Linked DNA regions of Homo sapiens: all the other regions are linked to region 1. Evidence: promoter capture Hi-C in human tissues and cell types (Jung and others, 2019). All regions are on one chromosome and are shown on one strand. The core of a region is centred on a gene start or on the middle of the fragment in contact, and the rest is flanking DNA. Distances in the headings are between cores, read along the strand shown.

What was found. Contacts are between HindIII fragments. The study calls those that stand out against the background at their distance.
Region 2: a contact is called between a fragment that was not itself captured here and the fragment with the promoter of LDHD in region 1, in 1 of the 25 tissues and cell types used here (dorsolateral prefrontal cortex).
Region 3: a contact is called between a fragment that was not itself captured here and the fragment with the promoter of LDHD in region 1, in 2 of the 25 tissues and cell types used here (dorsolateral prefrontal cortex and hippocampus).

The regions. Positions count from the first base shown.
Region 1 is chr16:75,114,816-75,118,823 of GRCh38, forward strand. LDHD (lactate dehydrogenase D) reads right to left here and starts at 1,965. Exons shown (of 11, transcript NM_194436.3): 1 at 1,834-1,965; 2 at 733-845; 3 at 383-524; 4 at 12-153. The coding sequence starts at 1,905. RefSeq lists an enhancer at 1,196-1,490. The HindIII fragment of the contact is 8,282 bases long and covers 1-4,008 here.
Region 2 is chr16:74,682,784-74,686,591 of GRCh38, forward strand. MLKL (mixed lineage kinase domain like pseudokinase) reads right to left here. Exons shown (of 11, transcript NM_152649.4): 5 at 2,703-2,800; 6 at 1-3. Among named protein-coding and RNA genes, the nearest start is that of MLKL, 16 kb to the right of the region's middle. The HindIII fragment of the contact is 5,809 bases long and covers 1-3,808 here.
Region 3 is chr16:74,659,120-74,662,835 of GRCh38, forward strand. It overlaps RFWD3 (ring finger and WD repeat domain 3), which reads right to left. Exons shown (of 13, transcript NM_018124.4): 2 at 1,813-2,332. The coding sequence starts at 2,330. Among named protein-coding and RNA genes, the nearest start is that of RFWD3, 5.9 kb to the right of the region's middle. The HindIII fragment of the contact is 6,343 bases long and covers 1-3,716 here.

The DNA.
Region 1 (4,008 bases), core at 715-3,214:
GCGAGTCCTACCCACGGGAAACCAGAGGCCGCTGTCCCGCAGGTGGGCGTTGAGGGCTTTGCGGGTGACACCTGGCTCCACCACCACAGAGAAGTCCTCCTGGTTCAGCTCCAGGATTCGGTCCATATGCGTCAGGTTAACGCAGACGCCGCCCTGGTTGGGGCAGGTGCTAAGACCACTGCAGACCTGGGTCTCTGACCTGGCCACGTCCCCGGACCACACCCCGCGGGTGTCCCCCCAGCAGCCAGACCAGACCCCCAGAGGCAGGCAGCCCACGGGCGGGAGCAGACCCAAGGTGCCGTGTGTGGCGGGGGAGGCAGCCACAGGTGTGCCAAGGTGTGCTGGGACCATCCTCGGGCCGGGCGAGGGAGCCCCACTGTACCTGCACAGCACAGACGCCACCCTCAAGCCCGGTGCCGGTGCCGAATGGGATGATGGGCACACCTTGGCGATAGCACAGGGCTGCCAGCCGGCTGACCTGCTCCACGTTCTGGGGCCACACCACAGCATCAGGAGGTTCGCACCTAGAACCAGACCCTCAGCGATTTAGCGGGGCGTGACACCCTCTGGTCCCGAGGTGTTGCAGGGCCTGAGGCTACAGCAAGCGAGGGGCAGAGAACATGCCAGAGCACCCCAAAACAGATGAGTGAGGAGGAAGGCAACCCAGCACCCTCTCTCTCAGCTGGGGTTGAATCCAGAAGACAGGGGAGGGGCCCGCGAACCCTCCCATACCTGTGCACCGACTCATCGCGCCCGTGCTGCTCTCGGACCACCGCGGCAGTGGACACGTGGGAGCCGCCCACCACGGCCTTCAGAGCCTCTACGAAGTCCCTGCAGAGCTCTCCCTGCAGGGAAGAAACACACTGCCAGGGTCCCCCGAAAGACACATGGGGCCACAGCCCTGCCCCAGTGTCGGGGGGAGGGCTGGGGGCTGGAGGCTGGAGTGAGCCTCCCCTGCGCCCGCCCCGCTGACAACATCCTTGCCAGGTGGGCCCACTTTAAACAAACCCACTATCCAGAAATGCCTCTTTTCCAAACAGAGCCATTGGGGGTCAAAGTTTCCCCTCAGAAAAAAACGCCACCAGAATTTTTTTAATGTTTTCTTTTTTAATAAAAACAGGGTCTTACTATGTTGCCCAGGATGGTTTCAAACTCCTGGGCTCAAGCGATCCACCTGCCTCGGCCTCCCAAAGTGCTGGGGTTACAGGCGTGAGCCACAGCGCCCAGCCATCCAAATAAAAAACCAGAATTCACTCTCCAAAAAGGCTATCAGCAGGGTTCCTTCAATAGCCAGCCCAGCCTGAGCAACCGAAAAGATCCCTCACTTCCTCCTTTCTCCAGGGCCAACCAAGCACCACCCCAGCCACAGGGAACTCAGAGCTTGATAAGGGAATTAGGGGGAGGAAAAGCTTCCACTGCCCCCTCCCCACTCTACGTTGCCTGGGGCTTCTGGGCCCTTCGTGGGGGGCGGGGCGCGGCGGGGCGGGGGATGTGTTTCTTCCCATTTTACAGATGAGAAATGGAGGCCAAGTTAAGGACAGAGCCTGGCCTGGAACCCAGGCCCTTTCCTTCAGGGCCTTCTTCCACAGGTGTGTTTTATTCCAGGGGCATCCATTTGACTCCCCCAGCCCCACTCATGGTAGCAGTGGGGACTCAGCTGATCTCACTCTACACCCACCCACAGTTGCCACAGGGTAAGCCCAGTGCCCTTTTGCCCAAGGTCAGGTCACTTGGTGCTGGGGCGTCACAGAGCCCAGGAAACTTGGGATCAGAACCCCCTGCTCCCCGCTCCCCACCTCATCCCTCCAGAGGACTTCTCTTCTCTCCCGGTACCTTTGCCTTCTGGGAGCAGTAGCCCCTCCAGGGGAACAGCTCCCAGGTTGCAGACCTGAGCAGTCGGGCCATAGCCAGGCACTGGCCAGAGGGTGTGAGCACTGGGTGGCAGGGTGACCAGTCAGCTACTGTGGCAGCAGCTACTGCTGCTGTCAGCCCATTGGCTAGGCCAGGGGTGGGGCCTGCTTAAGGTGGCACGGGCTTTAAGGTGGCCCTTGCAGATCTTGCAGACATTTTCGTGGGCTCCAGGGACGACACTTCTAAAGGAGAGGCGAGGTTCACTGGACGTTTTGGGAAACTGTAAGGCAAAAATAAAATTCTAAGCCTCCCAACCGACTGAATGGACCTCCCTCTCAGCCCAGGGCATTCCAAAATAAACCTGAAAAATTAATTCAGGCTGTGATGGGAAGAGGTTTAGGACAAGCCTCATTATCCCCCTCCTTCCTTTAGAATTCAGACACAACTGACCAGCATTAACATTAAAACAGAGACCTTAAGGCATTCTGATCTTAAGACACAAAACAGACTCTTTGTAGCAATAAGATACCAAATTCCAACCTGACTCTAGCATCACCTGACAGATAGCAGGCCCTGAAAGAAATCAATGTATTTTACCCCCAAAATATATTCCTCTGATTTTTTTTTTAAATAGCTCCAAAAAGCTGTCTTTTGTGGGGAAAATCTAGAATCTGTAGAGAATCCCCTCCCCTTTCCAGGTTTTTTGTTTTGTTTTGTTTTGTTTTGAGACAGAGTCACTCTGTGGCCCAGGCTGGAGTGCAGTAGCGTGCTGCAACCTCCACCCACTGGGTTCAAGCGATTCTCCTGCCTCAGCCTCCCAAGTAGCTGGGATTACAGGTGCCTGCCACTGTGCCCAGATAATTTTTCTATTTTTAGTAGAGACAGGGTTTCACCATCTTGGCCAGGCTGGTCTTGAACTCCTGACCTCGTGATCCACCTGCCTTGGCCTCCCAAAGTGCTGGGATTACAGGCATGAGCCACCGCGTCCAGCCTCTTTCCAGGTTTTATCCTGATCTAAGGGAGATTTAACTAAGAGTCTGGCACCTTTTAACGCCTTAGACATTTACCATCTATGTTACATAATAAGAACCTTGGGCCGGGTGCAGCGGCTCACATCTGTAATGCCAGCACTTTGGGAGGCCAAAGTGGGAGGATCACGAGGTCAAGAGATAGAGACCCTCTTGGCCAACATGGTGAAACCCCGTTTCTACTAAAAATACAAAAATTAGCTGGGCATGGTGGTACACGCCTGTAGTCTCAGCTACTTGGGAGGCTGAGGCAGGAGAATCGCTTGAACCCAGGAGGTGGAGGTTGCAGTGAGCTGAGATCGCACCACGGCACTCCAGCCTGGCGACAGAGCGAGACTCTGTCTCAAAAAAAAAGAACCTTGGTCTCCACAACTCCTTATCTTAACCCAGATGCTTATTTCTATTGATTCCAGGTTGTCTTTTTTAAAATTTTTTATTTAAAAAAAATTTTGTTGTTGTATACCAAGATTCCAAGTCTTTGGATAATAACTTCTTTCAACCAATTGAAAATCAGAAATTTTTTTTTTTTTTTGAGATGGAGTCTCACTCTGTTGCTCAGGCAGTGGCGTGATCTCAGCTCACTACAACCTCCATCTCCTGGGTTCAAGCTGTTCTCATGCCTCAGCCTCCCAAGTAGCTGGGATTACAGGAGTGCCACCATGCCCAGCTAATTTTTGTATTTTTAATAGAGACAGGGTTTCACCATGTTGGTCCAGGCTGGTCTCGAACTCCTGACCTCAAGTGATCCACCCGCCTTGGCTCCCCAAAATGCTGGGATTACAAGTGTGAGCCACCGTGCCCAGCGCCAATCAGAAAAGTCTTTGAATTCACCTATGACCTGTAAGCTCCTCCCTCAATCAGAAGGAACCAATGCATACCCTGCTTATATTGATTACTGTCTGATGCCTCCCTAAACTGTATAAAACCAGTTGTAACTCAACTGCCTTGGGTACATGTTCTCAGGACCTCCAGGGAATGTGTCACAGGTCATGGTCTTCATGTGAGTGGTGGGAAATCCATACAGGTCTACATAAAACTCAATGCTTGCCTCATCAGAAGAAAGAATTCTACTGAAGAGGTCTGAAAGGGAAATATCTTGAGCCCCCAAAATTACTAAGCTAAAGGGAAA
Region 2 (3,808 bases), core at 794-3,293, 430 kb before region 1:
TCACTGGTGGAAAGGAGCCAGACACTATGAGGACCCGCCCTACTTGAAGCTTCCCATGTCTGCAGCCCACCTCTCCCAGCCTCGGTACAGATACAGACTTGGCTCTGCTGAGTCCCATTTCTCCCCCAATCCTCAGCCCACAGTTTTGGTCCCCGGCCTCCTTGAATGGACCAAATATGCCCAGAATTCCCATCCTCTTCTCCATAATACTTGGCTTGTCGTAATTCTACCTTAAAAAAAAAATTGGCTGGGTGCGTTGGCTCATGCCTGTAATCCCAGCACTTTGGGAGACCAATGTGGGTGGAACACAAGGTCAGGAGTTTGAGATCAGCCTGGCCTACGTGGTGAAACCATGTCTCTACTAAAAATACAAAAATTAGCTGGGTGTGGTGGCAGGTGCGTGTAATCCCATCTACTTGGGAGGCTGAGGCAGGAGAATCACTTGAAGCTGCGTGGCAGAGATTGCACCACTGCACTCCAGCCTGGGCAACAGAGTGACACTACATCTCAAAAAAAAAAAAAAAATGTTCTGCCAGGTGTGGTGACTCACGCCTGTAATCCTGGCTCTTTGGGAGGCTGAGGCTGGTGGATCACTTGAGGCCAGGAGTTCGAGACCAGCCTGGCCAACATGATGAAACCTCGTCTCTATGAAAAATGCAAAAATTAGCCAGGTGTGGTGGGACATGCCTGTAGTCCCAGCTATTAGGGAGGCTGAGGCAGGAGAATTGCTTGAACCTCGGAGGTGGAAGCTGCAGTAAGCATATTGTACCACCGCACTCCAGCCTGAGTGACAGAATGAGACTCTGTCTCAAAAAAAAAAAAAAAAAATTCTTTTTCTTTTTCTTTTTTAACTTCTATCTCCCTTTCTTGGTATAATTCAAAATTTTCTTGAGCAGTTATTTGGCGAATGTCTTCCTCACTCAACTGGATTCCCAAGAAGGCAGGAAATGTGTCTGTCTTGTTCACATGGGTGCTCACAAGAAGCTTCGTACATCTGTGTGGGAGGAATGAGTAGGGCACACATGGCAGGGGCGGGTGAGGACTCAGACAAGAAGTCGACTTCCCCATTCATGGGCCTGAGCTGCAAAACTGACATGTGACTGAGCCAGGCACCTCAGCGGTCCCCAAGGAGAACAAACGTTGCTGAACATTTGTCTTTATTTTTTATTTTTTAATTTTTTTGAGACAGAGTCTAGCTCTGTCACCCAGGCTGGAGTGCAGTGGCATGATATTGGCTCACTGCAACCTCCGCCTCCCAGGTTCACGCAATTCTCCTGCCTCAGCCTCCCGAGTAGCTGGGACTACAGGCACCCACCACCACGCCCAGTTAATTTTTATATTTTTAGTAGAGACAGGGTTTTATCATGTTGGCCAGGCTGGTCTCAAACTCCTGACCTCAGGTGATCCACCTACCTTGGCCTCCCAAAGTGCTGGGATTACAGATGTGAGCCACCGTGCCTGGCCTACGTTTCCCTTTAGATTGGGATTCCACACTCTGAAATCAAGTTGGCCTGAGGCTGTGGAGCAACTTCCAAAGGGGATAAGACAGGAGTTGCTCTGTCCAATCTCTAGGCAAGACGGCAGCAAAACATGACCAGCAGGAGGGGTCATTCCATGAGAGAAAATGCAGTCACATTGGGAAAAAAAGAAAAAAAAAAAAAAAAAAAGAGCCTGTCACATAAGGCTCTTGGTAGAGGGGTAAAGTAATGGTTTTTTTTTTTGTTTGTTTGAGACAGAGTCTCACTCTGTCACCCAGGCTGGAGTGCAGTGGCATGATCTCGGCTCACTGCAAACTCCGCCTCCCAGGTTCAAGCAATTCTCCTGCCTCAGCCTCCCGAGTAGCTGGGACTAGAGGCATGTGCCACCACATCCGGCTAATTTTTTGTATTTTTAGTAGAGACGGGGTTTCATCATGTTGGCCAGGACGGTCTCAAGCTCCTGACCTTGTGATCCACCCACCTCAGCCTCCCTAAGTGCTGCTGAGCCACAGCGCCTGGCCAGGTAAGTTAATTTTGCTTTTAGATTTGTTCTATACTAATGATGACCAAGGGTGTTTTCCTTCTTTGGGTCAGACAGCTTTATAATTTATTTTTATTTTTGAGACGGAGTCTTGCTCTGTTGCCCAGGCTGGAATGCAATGGTGCACCCTCAGCTCACTGCAACCTCCGCTTCCCAGGTTCAAGCAATTCTCCCACCTCAGCCTCCCGAGTAGCTGGGACTACAGATGCCTGCCACCAGACCCAGCTAATTTTTGTATTTTAGTAGAGATGGGGTTTCACCATGTTGGCTGGGCTGGTCTTGAACTCCTGACCTCAAGTGACCTGCCTGTCTCGGCTTACCAAAGTGCTGGGATTACAGGTGTGAGCCACTGCACCTGGCAGCTTTATAATGTTTTAGAGCAACAAGATGCACCCCTCTTCCAGGCTGGCATCTAAACATGCACCCCCTTATTTCCCAGTGGGCTGAAAGGAGAAGATGTGGCCATGTTAGTGCAAACCACCCCTCAGCCTTCAGCCCTGCCCTCCTGAAAGAAGATGAGAACATGCATCTTGGGATGAAAAAAAAAAAATTAACATTGATAATAATCACACTTTGTGGATTCCACCCTTTGTGATGTTCTTTAAAAAAATGCAACACATTAAAACACAGGAGGTGTGTTCTAGGCCATCCAAAGCTTGACCAATCCTAGAAGCATTCCTTACCTGTTTCATCAATGCAAATCCCAAATATACGCAGGATGTTGGGAGATTCGAATTTCTTCATGGTTTTGATCTCCTTATTGAAAGTCTGCCTCACTATTCTATAAGGATTAAAGAGAGAAATCAGGATTTCAGAACTGGAAGGTTCCTTAGAGAACATTCAGTGTGGTGACCCTCTGTGTATGTGGGGGCGGGGGTATCAGCATCTGGGGTGAGAACTGGTGCCAGGATGAACTCAGCTACTGATAACAACATGTGGAACCCCTCAGGTGCCTGTGGCAGCACAATTAGTCCCTCGGGGTCTGTCAGATATTAATGGGACTTGCTAATATCTTTTCAGTAGTTCAAATAGTCTGATAGAATTGTATTTTTATGACCTACAGGGCTTTACTAGGCAAACTAAAAAGTCAAGTATTTGTTACTGTTTTTAGGCTGTAACCTGTTGTTTAGCATATACTCTGACAGATTGTGGTGTGTGTCTTTTTTTTTTTTTTGGAGACAGGGTCTTGCTTTGTCACCCAGGCTGGAGTGCAGTGGTGCGATCTTGGCTCACTGCAGCCTCCACCTCCCAGGTTGAAGCAATTCTCATGCCTCAGCCACCTGAGTAGCTGGAACTACAGGTGCGTGCCACCATGCTTGGCTAATTTTTGTATTTTTTTTGCAGAGACATGATTTCACCATGTTGGCCAGGCTGGTGTCAAACTCCTGGCCTCAAGTGATTTGCCTGCCTACGCCTCCCAAAGTGCTGGGATTTCAGGTGTGAGTCACCGTGCCCAGCCCGTGGTGTGTGTCTTTGATGAATAAAAATAATGATACTAGGCCGGGCGTGGTGGCTCATGCCTGTAATCCCAGCACTTTGGGAGGCCGAGGCAGGTGGATCACAAGGTCAGGAGTTCGAGACAATCCTGCCGAACATGGTGAAACCCCGTCTCTACTAAAAATACAAAAAAATTAGCTGGGTGTGGTGGCGGGCGCCTGTAGCCCCAGCTACTTGGGAGGCTGAGGCAGGAGAACGGCGTGAACCCAGGAGGTGGAGCTTGCAGTGAGCCGAGATCACACCATTGCACTCCAGCCTGGGTGACAGAACGAGACTACGTCTCCACACACAC
Region 3 (3,716 bases), core at 1,047-3,546, 460 kb before region 1:
TTCTTTGTAAGTTGGCATCTGGTTTATAAGTGTCACCCTTAAGTTGGTTAATACAAGTCACTGTGCTTGACCAAGAGGAATCCACTCTGCGTCCCCCAACAAGAATGAGTGCATGGATAAGCAAGACTGAGGACTTGCAAGAGGCCTCCTGACAGTCAGCCAGCTCCTGGAAACACCACTCACAACTCTCAACCATGGAAAGTTAGCCCATTTACTTTGGGAGGGTCCCCAAATTACACCATAAGGTGCCTTCACCTATAACACAAATGTATGAAATCTTACCCTGCCTTTATAACGTGAGTAATGACATCTTAAAACAACAGACTATAGCCAAGCCTGCTGGTGCACGCCTGCAATCCCAGCTACTTAGGAGGCTGAGGCACAAGAATCGCTTGAACCCGGGAGCCAGAGGTCCTGGTGAGCTGATACTGCGCCACTGCACTCCAGCCTGAGTGACAGAGCAAGACTCTTGTCTTAAAAACAAAAAAAAAACCCAGAGTAATATGCATTTGCAACTCTTGTCAACACAGAACTAGGCATCTGTCATCCTTGATGGGCACTACAGACACTGGAGCCACAGTCATGGCAAGCCCCAACATTAAAATCAGCAGGATCCATGAAAAAGAATGCTGAATCCAGATACAGAAGGCACAATTCCAATTCCAGCCTTATCACAACCAAATCACAAATTATCCCATCAGCTTCCTCATTTGTAAAACATGGGTAATAGATGACCTAGCTACCACTTTTTAGTATCATCTCAATATTTTCACAGTGTTAGAAAACATCGGCATGGTTGCGTATGCCTGTAGTCCCAGTTAATCATCAAGAGGCTGAGGTAGGAAGATCGCCTAAGCCTGGGGAGGTCGAGGCTGCAGTGAGCTGTGATTGCACCACTGCACTCCAGCCTGGGGAGCACAGTGAGACCCTGTCTCAAAAATAACAATAATAAAAACAAGAAGAAAGAGAAAACAAAGGGATTTCGTCGAAGCTTCCTCCATCTGCCTATGTAGAAAACAGGGCAGATCCAGGCTCCAATATCAGTGCTAACTCCTCTATTCTATAGTTATGAGACCCTGAACAAAGCCCTCTCTGAGCGGAGATCGCACCACTGCGCTCCAGCCTGGGCGACAGAGTGAGACTCCATCTCAAAACAAAACAAAACCAAAAACAGACAGGTTTAATTAGTTAGGTGTGGTGGCACGCGCCTGTAATGCCAGGTACTGGGGAAGCTGAGGCAGGAGAATCGCTTGAATCTGGGAGATGGAGGTTGCAGTGAGCAAAGATTGTGCCACGGGAATCCAGCCTGGACGACAGAGTGAGACGCTGTCTCAAAAACAAAAACAAAAAACCAAAAAACGGACAGGGTATAGGCAATTGTTATTCTTCATAATAACCCTGTCAAGACTTGACAGCTAAGCCCTTCAAGAGGCAAGTTCAAACCAAGACTATGAAAGAAAATTAATTAATTGTGCCCCCAGGTGGAATGCCAGTGAATAATGAATTTGGGTGAGTAGAGACTTGCAAGTGAAGAAAGAATTTTTGGTGTACAAGACACAATCTGAACAACAGCCAATCTCTACAGAGATTGCCAACAAACTACCACCTAGTTTTCAAGGCACAACAGTTTAACTTATCCCTTCATTACTTTGTGAAGTAAGGCAAGCACTTTTATTTCCACCTATGAGGAACTGGGGGTCAGAAGTTACCTGACTTGCCAAAAGTCACACTGTCAGTCCTTGAATGGCAGAGCCTCAGTTTCATAATTTCTAGTACAGCAATGATCACAGACTTATCCATATATTTATTTACCTGGCACTGTCTGTCCTCTGAGACCCTCCGGCTCTTGCCCTCCGTGAAGCAGATACCCTCCTTCTTGTTCTCATTGGCCCTACACTGTGGTTTGAAGATGAAGGTCTCAGGAATTCCAGCATGCCATGAAGTCTCTGCAGTCCGCTGATGAAGTTGGTCATTGAATGCAACGAAGATGCTGGGATGGTGTGATTACCATCAGATCCCTGCCTATGTTGTTCTGAAGTTCTTGGATTGATGTTCTCCACAGTGTCTTCTCCCAAGACCTCCACTTCTGTCAGGTCAACAGACAGTTGCGGAGCAGGCTGGAGCAGGGGTGGTGTCGCTTGGCTGCTGATCACCTCAGCAGGAGCTGGCTGGAGGATGGATGGTACCCCCTGGCTGCTGACCACATCAGCAGGAACAGGCTGGAGGAGGGCTGGTCCCCCTTGGCTGCTGGCCATGCCAGCAGGAGCTGGCTGTTGTTCGGCATGATTTAACTGCACCTGAACATCATATTCCATTGCTTCATGAGCCATCACTAGAGAAACAGTATTTGTAAAAAGTATTAATAAAATAGATAAAACATGCTATGTAGGTGACAGAATCATATTTAATCTTTCTGATTTTATGTTTAATATCATTCTTAGCAAGACTGAGAAGCTTCAAGAGAAGATTTTAACTACTTAAGTCAGAAGTGTTTGGTAATGGACTTTCCTCTCTATAACAAGCATTTATAACCAGTTTTCCGGTTTGCCCTTAGAAAACATGAAGTCCTGTGATCATAGTAGTATCTTCCAAAATAGAAAGATCTATAAACCAAGGAGATTAAACTACTGGGTCTAAAAGTAATCTCTCAGACACTTTGCAGTTCTCTCAAGCTGAATATGGACATTCACCAAAATCAAATGCATATAATGCAGTATCTAATTTTAGCAGGCAATATTAATCTTTCACAGCATCAACAGTTACAAGGGATAAATAGAGAAAGGACATTTTTTACACTTGCAAAATTAACTGTTACTAACTCAAAATGGAAACTTACCTAATGTTTCCAAAAAGGCTGAGCAAACTTTATCCTATCCCTTTCATTATTTTTGTTTTCCATCTCTAATTCCATCATGTTAGCGTATTCAACAAATATTTATTAAGCACCTATGTTCTTTTCATGTTTCCTATCTTTAATTCCATTGTATCAGTTTGAAAACTACCACCTAGTTTTTAAACTAAAAAAAAAAATTTTTTTTTGTTATATAGATGAAGGCTTCCTATGTTGCCCAAACTGGTCTTGAATGCCTGGCCTTACCTCCTCATGCATCAGGACAACAGGACTGAGCCACTGTGCCTCCCTACCACCTAGTTTTTAAAGTACATCAGTATAACTTATCCCCTTAATTACTTTGTGAAGTAAGGCACGTGCTTTTATTTTCATCTGACTTATGAGGAAATGGGGGTTCAACTAATAGTTATTAAGCACCTGTTATGCAGACAAGACACCCTAGAGGCAAAAACAGATAAGACCCCATGTATCAGAGTTTAGATTCTAGCAAGTAAGATGTCAATAAACAAATACATGAAAAAAATTATAGATTATGATGTTTGGGGTTGAGGAGACAAAGAGGACCAACTAAGACACAATTGTGAGGGAAGTACTCTTTTAAAGAGTGAAAATTGGGCTGAGGCATGAAGGATTAAAAGCAGCTGGCTATGCAAAGAGCCAAGAAGAGTCTCAGAAGGAAATCAGTGCATAGGTCCCTGATGAGCATGGGTTTCACTGATGAACAGGACACCATTATTAAAGGGCCTATGGGCCTTGGTAAGGAGTTTCTTCTATGTTAGGAATGCACTGTAGGGGTGCAAGAGCATAAGCTAGGTGACCAGTGTAGAGGCTATTGTGGGAGTCCAGACCAGAGGTCAGAGAGACC